Linked DNA regions of Homo sapiens: region 2 is linked to region 1. The links are contacts of gene promoters, found by promoter capture Hi-C in human tissues and cell types (Jung and others, 2019). All regions are on one chromosome and are shown on one strand. Each heading gives the region's core, a stretch centred on a gene start or on the middle of the fragment in contact. The rest is flanking DNA. Distances are from core to core; before and after follow the strand shown. Region 1 holds the start of ANKRD45 (ankyrin repeat domain 45). Region 2 overlaps LOC100506023 (a long non-coding RNA gene).

Region 1 (3,458 bases), core at 146-2,645:
TGCTACAGACATCTGGGAAGAGTGATAAGACTCACAGAAGTCAGAGGGGAGGGAGAAAAAAAAATAGGGGGTGGGGTGGCTAATCCATAAAAGGAAAGAAAGTTTTGTCATTGGGAAATCAAAACTTAAAGTGGGGAAGGAGACAAGATGTAACCTTATAAGGGGATAATGAAACTTAGGCAACGTTGGGGAAGACTGTAACCCCATAGTACTCAGCCTATGAGGAACCAGGGTAGGGACTTGCACACTAGGTGATAAATTCCTTGTTGAAACTGCACTGGGTGTTCCTGCTCACCAGACACCCGATCTTGCAAGACCGTTATTAAAAAGTGTCTCTTTTGCTGTTCTTCATGCCTCTAAGTCCATTCTTTGGGTTTGGACAGGTGAGTGTGTTTCTCACATCACCTAACTCCTGAGCTCTTATGGGGAAGCTGCTGATAACCAGTTTCAGATGTTTTCTATCTATTCGGAGAGTGCCTTTTCCTGGCATTGGCTGCAACCAATTATTATTTTAGAGAGACAGTTAACAACTGCCTATCACCTGATGGTCGCCTGACATTCCTGGTGGGGGATAGGGGAGCCTGCTCTGCTCATGCCTGACTACCTACTGTAACAATGGTGAAATTTTGCTTGGGCCTTAGGTCAAATATTCATTTCAGAACTAGGCTATTCGAACTTCAGCACAGATGTTCAGAGCCCCTCTAAAACATTCACTTACTCCTTAGTGGACTCTTGGTAGAAACAGTAAAGAAATGAATATTTTCCTTCACACCTGCCTTCAGCACAAAAACTTCCCTGTTTTCACTGTGTGATTCATGTGAACATTGATATAATTGCTAGGTATGCCTGGCCCTTCCCTGCTGGTTTCTTTCGAACCCCTTGTCCCTCCACCTCCATCGCTTCCCCCCTTTTAAAGTTGTGTTTTGCATCTTGAATTTCTGAATCAAGAGGGATATAGTCTCCAAGTTTCTTCTGCTCCTAAGGTAGTTGGCACTTGTGAGGTCGCCTGAAACACTCCTTGCTGGTGACAATGACCATAAACCATGGGAGAAAGATATCCAATAACTAGAAAATTAAGCAAGGGGTTATTCATACAATCTTTTGTAGTTTTTAGAATGCAACCTCATATTTCCAGAAAATTCTTTCGTTTAAAAGCCAAAGACAGGCCAACAACCAATATGCACAACTTATTTTTAAACTGTAAAACAAATACCTTATTACAGAAAATTTACAAAACAAAGAAAAAACCGACACGCCACCCAGAGACTGAAATTATAGATAATTCCTGGCTGTTTTCCACTCTGGCTTCCTGCGCCTTTGCAACCAAGAATAACCTTCCCGCGCTGCCGGAACCGCGGCGCAGGAGGAGGCGCTGCCTCGCGTGTTGCGCCGTTGCTATGGTAACCGAGGAGGCCGGGGCCCGGGTGTGGTGAGTCTAGGGGTCCTGGCGCTGTGGGCCGGGGTGGGCACTTGGGGAGGAGTGCGATGGGGTAGACGGACATCTTCCCTCCAGGCTGCTCGGGCAGGGCTGGAGGGGAGTGGGCTTCAATCTCAGCGTCCTCACACTGCTTCTGTCCAGAGCTTTGCGCACCGGTCTCCTACCCCGCCGGCAGCCGCAAGGGATCGCAGAAGGTCCCTAGGGAATTCAGGCCGAAGAGCAAACTCTGGTGCCCTGAAGTGTCCGTTGCCCCCTCGCGGGACCTCCTGGATCACCTGGCGGCGCTGCCACTTTCTGTATCCTGTTCCTCAGGCCTTCTCTTTGTTTAACTCTGTGTGCCCAGGGTTGCCCTTGGGGTCCTTCTCCTTGAGCTGGGACTTGATTAAGCGACTACTTTTTTTTTTTTTTTGAAGAAAAAAATCAGTTGGCTTAAAAGGCACATTAGGATCTACTCCTCTATCACAACTTCAGGCTGCGTCGCCTGCCTCCTTGCCCTTTGTTTATGCTCTTCCCGTTACCTGGATTGTCCTTTTTTCCTCCTTTTAAGACTCCTACTCTTCACTATCGAGGTTTCACCTCTTCTGGGAAAACTTTCTGAGACCGCCACCCAGAATTGAATGTAGATGTCCACGGTTTTACTTTCAAAGCACTCTACCTACCTCCATTGAATCCCTGATCTCACTCTGTCATTGCTGATTTACTTGTGTCTTCCCTACCAAAATGTGAGAGCCTATGGGGTAGGTGCTATGACCTATGTGATTTTCTATTGTGGGTGGCTCGAAAGCAATCACATTCTATAGTTAAAAAGAAAAGTTTATAGATTTTTCTACACTTATTTAGTAAGGCAGACCAGGTGCTATCCTCATTTCAGAAAAGTCACATAATTAGTAACAGAATCAAGACTAAAGCAATGCCATTCTGCCTTCATAGTTCCAGCCTTCCCTCTTCCCTCCAATGCTCATATTCTCTGTGAAACTTCAGTTATATGTAGCAAGGTTACAATTTTGATGTATGTTATTACTTTTGTGGGCAAAGAAAATGTAATTTATTTTTGTATATGACTGATCTGGTTCCTTTCATGAGCATTTACTTATTGATTATTAGGAAAGAATCTAAATGTCCGATTGGTTTTAAAGTTTAGCTCAATCTAGAATTGATTTCTTTGGCTAGTGTTTAATTTCTCTTATATACAAATATTTAGGTTATCAGGTATCTTCTTGGATTCTTTCCTTGAGATGGTGCCCTGGCTATGTGGATGGCTCACGGAATCAGTTATGGGGACGGGTCAGGGTCCCTTTGCCTTCCCTTGGCTCTGGGGGGTGATGTTCCTGGTATACCGAGTGCTCCCTGCCCTATGGCTTTCTTGGTTTTAACCTTTGGCTTATATACCTTGTGAACAGGTATCTCCTGGTTTTGTCAGGACTCGGTTGAGCTCCCTGGCTCACTCAATTGCGCTGAGTTCCTGCTGTGACTTCCCTTCAGCCCTGACTGGAGTGGTTTGCACCACAGCCCTCCCTCCCTGCAAAGCCTCCTTGCCCTGCTATAGCAATTGAGTAGGGCAAGCATCCTGCAAGACTTTCCTATTTCTAGGTCTCATGTATATCCTAAGGCAGTGCTCTCAAACTTTGTTGTCTCAGGACTCCATTTTACTCTTAAGAAATGATCCCGAAGAGCTTTCCTTTATGTGAGTTATGTCTTTTAATATAGTATTACATATGTTGTAAGAATTAGAAATTAAACTGAGGATTTAAAAAATGTTTATTAATTCCTTAAAAAATAAATTCACATGTAACATAATTATATATTTCTCATAAAAATATTTTCCAGAACAAAAGAATTAGTTAGAAAGTGGCATTATTTTACATTTCTGCAAATGTCTTTAATTTCTGGCTTAATGGGAGACAGATTCTTATGTCTGCTTCTGCAGTCTATCCGTTGCAATATGTTGTTTTGAAATATGTAAAGAAAATTCCTCCTTACATAGATATATAGTTGGAAAAGGGAAGAGTATTTTAATAGC
Region 2 (3,432 bases), core at 49-2,548, 200 kb after region 1:
AAGGGCTGTATATTTCAAGAAAAAAATGATCATGTTTCTTTGTGAAAGTAGAGAATGTTCCATGAACTTAATATGCAAACAAAGTCAGAAGAACGCTGTTCTGCCTGGCCTTCGTAGGTAATTGAGTTTAACATCTGACTTATACCAAAGGTAGGTGCTCTGTGGACTGGGCCCCATTCCAGAGGGAAAATTTTAAAGCTATTTTCCTGAGGGTTAGTGAGATGTATAATGGGAAAGGAGGAGGGGAGGAAGGACAGAGGAGACATTCCAGGGAAAGACCGGAGTGTGGAAAAGGGAGAGCTTGACTAAGAAAGGATTTACTTTCCTTAGAGAGAGGGTGGAGGCTCTCCTATCAGAAAAAGTGTTTTCATACAGCTATAAGGGTCGGAGAGAACCTTGAAGTCCTTACAGTAATCTGAGGGACAGGAAAGAATGGATTTCAGGCATTTCCAGAGGGCTGTGACTCTGGGATGACTCACATCTTCTCTTCTGTCTTTACTGCTTTGACAGAAGAATAAAATGAACAGATTAGCAATGGGCATTTGGAAAAACAACAGTGCACCATGATGCCTGTCTCTCTCACTAGATTGTGAACTCCTAAAGGTTTGACTATATTTTATTAATGAATATTTGTGACCTGTTACACATAGTGGGCATGAGGACTACGTTGTACAAAGTATTAGAGAAACATTGGGTCGCCTTCCTGCAGCCACAACAGCAAAGTTTCTTGTTTGTCCACAGCTGGGAGTAAAAGAGCAAGATGTCTCTAGTTATACAGTCATGTGATACAACATTGGACCACATATACTACGGTGGTCTCATAAGATGATAATGGAGCTGAAAAATTCCTTTCGCATAGTGATGTCTTGAGGATCCTGACCCTGTGAAGCCCTAGGCTAATGTGTGCATTTATGTCTTTGTTTTTAAGTTTAAAAAGTTTCAAAAGACAATAACCTTTTAGAATTATAAAAAAGCTTATAGAATAAGAATATAAAAAAGAAAATACAGTATTTTGTATAGCTATACAATGTGTTTGTGTTTTAAGCTAAGTGTTATTACAGAAGAGTCAAAACATTAAAACAATTTTAAAGTTTATAAAGTAAAAAAGTTATAGTAAGGTAAGGTTAATTTGTTATTGAAGAAAGAAATTTTTACACATGAATTTAGTGTAGCCTAAGTGTACAGTGTTTATAAAGTCTACAGTACATTCATTCACCACTCACTCACTGTCTCACCCATGGCAACTTCCAGTCCTGCAAGCTATATTCATGGTAAATGCCCTATATAGGTGTACCATTTTTTATCCTTTTTTTTTTCATTTTTTTTTTTTAAGACAGGGCCTTGCTCTGTCACCCAGGCTGGAGTGCAGTGGTGTGATCATAGCTCACTGCAGCCTCAAGCTCCTGGGCTCAAGCAGTCCTCTCACTTCAGCCTCCTGAGTAGCTGGGACTACAGGCACATGCCACCATACCTGGGCAATTGTTTTATTTTTGGTAGAGACGGGGTCTTCCTAACCTGTGTTGCCCAGGCTGGTCTGAAATTCCTGGGCTTAAGTAGTCCTCCCACCTTAGCCTCCCAAAGGGCTGGGATTACAGGCTTGAGCCATATTTACCATGGTGTTATAATTGCCTACAGTATTCAGTATAGTAATGTGCTGTGCAGGTTTGAGGCGTAGGAGCAATAAGCTATACCATGTAGCCTAGGTATGTAGTAGACTATACCATCTAGGTTTGTGTAAGTGCACTCCATAATGTTCACACAATGACAAAATTGCCTAATGACACATTTCTCAGAACATATCCCCATCGTTAAGTGATGCATGACTGTAATTAGAGCTAGGTAAAAATCCCTGTACCAATGGGAGGAGACATATAAAACTAAAATTAATGTTAGGATGGTGAGATTGTGTTTTTTTTCAACTCTATAAACTTTCTTGTTAGATTTGATTGTCTTTTCAGAAATAAAGAAAGCTTGGGCACAGTAACCTGTACATATCATTAAGGCAGTCCTGTCAACCTTCAGTGAGTGGGGCTGATAATCTCTCCACTGCTTTTCTTTATCATCGTAATAGTTCGTTTTCATGATGCTGGTAAAGATATACCTGAAACTGGGTGATTTATACAGGAAAGAGGTTTAATGGACTTATAGTTCCACATGGCTGGGGAGGCCTCACAATCATGGCAGAAGGCAAGGAGGAGCAAGTCACATCTTATGTTGATGGTGGCAGGCAAAAAGAGAGCTTGTGCAGGAAACTCTCATTTTTAAAACCATCAGATCTCGTGAGACTCATTCAGTATCATGAGAACAGTGCAGGAAAGACCTGCTTCCATGATTCAGTCACCTCCCATTGGGTTCCTTCCATCACGTGTGGAATTGTGGGAGTTACAATTCAAGATGAGATTTGGGTGGGGATACAGCCAACCCATATCATTCTGCCCCTGGCCCCTCCCAAATCTCATGTCCTCACATTTCAAACCAATCATGCCTTCCTAACAGTTCCCCAAAGTCTTAACTAATTTCAGCATTAACTCAGAAGTCCCCAGTTTAAATTCTCATCCAAAACAAGGCAAGTCCCTTCTGCCTATGAGCCTGTAAAGTCAAAAGCAAGTTACTTCCTAGATACAATGGGGTTACAGGCATTGGGTAAATACCGCCATTCCAAATGGGAGAAATTGGCCAAAACAAAGGGGTTATAGGCCCCATGCAAGTCCAAAATCCAGCAGGGCAGTCAAACTTAAAGCTCCAAAATTATCTCCTTTGACTCCATGTCTTGCATCTGGGTCATGCTGATGCAAGAGGTGGGTTCCCATGGTCTTGGGCAGCTCCACCCTTGTGGCTCTGCATGGTACAGCTTCCCACTTGGCTCCTTTCACAGGCTGGTGTTGAGTGTCTGTGGCTTTTCCAGGCACACGGTACAAGCTGTTGGTGGATCTACCACTCTGGGGTCTGGAGGATGGTGGCCCTCTTCTCACAGCTCCACTAGGCAGTGCCCCAGTAGGGACTCTATGTGGGGGATCTGACCCCACATTTCCTTTCTGCACTACCCTAGCAGAGGTTCTCCATGACAGCCCTGGCCCTGCAGCAAACTTCTGCCTGGATATCCAGGCATTTCCATACATCCTCTGAAATCTAGGCAGAGGTGCTCAAACCTCAATTCTTGACTTTTGTGTGCCTACAGGCTCAACACCATGTGGAAGCTGCCAAGGCTTGGGGCTTGCACCCTCTGAAGCCATGGCCCAAGCTGTATATTGGCCCCTTTTAGTCATGGCTAAAAGAAGCAGCTGGAACACAGGGCATCAAGTGCCCAGACTGCACACAGCATGGGGACCCTGGGCCTGGCCCCTGAAACCGTTTTTTCCTCCTAGGCCCCCAGGCCTGTGATGGGAGGGGCTGCCGTGAAGACTTCTGACATGCCCTGCAGACATTTTCCCC

The links. The method cuts DNA at HindIII sites, captures the fragments that hold promoters and counts their contacts. A contact is called where the count stands out against the background at its distance.
Region 2: a contact is called between a fragment that was not itself captured here and the fragment with the promoter of ANKRD45 in region 1, in 1 of the 25 tissues and cell types used here (heart right ventricle).

The regions. Positions count from the first base shown.
Region 1 is chr1:173,667,788-173,671,245 of GRCh38, reverse strand. ANKRD45 (ankyrin repeat domain 45) reads left to right here and starts at 1,395. Exons shown (of 6, transcript NM_198493.3): 1 at 1,395-1,429. LOC105371619 (a long non-coding RNA gene) reads right to left here. Exons shown (of 3, transcript XR_922291.4): 2 at 1-12. RefSeq lists a cis regulatory region at 1-350. The HindIII fragment of the contact is 9,646 bases long and covers 1-3,458 here.
Region 2 is chr1:173,470,733-173,474,164 of GRCh38, reverse strand. All of the region lies in intron 1 of LOC100506023 (a long non-coding RNA gene), which reads left to right. Among named protein-coding and RNA genes, the nearest start is that of PRDX6, 4.9 kb to the left of the region's middle. The HindIII fragment of the contact is 5,462 bases long and covers 1-3,432 here.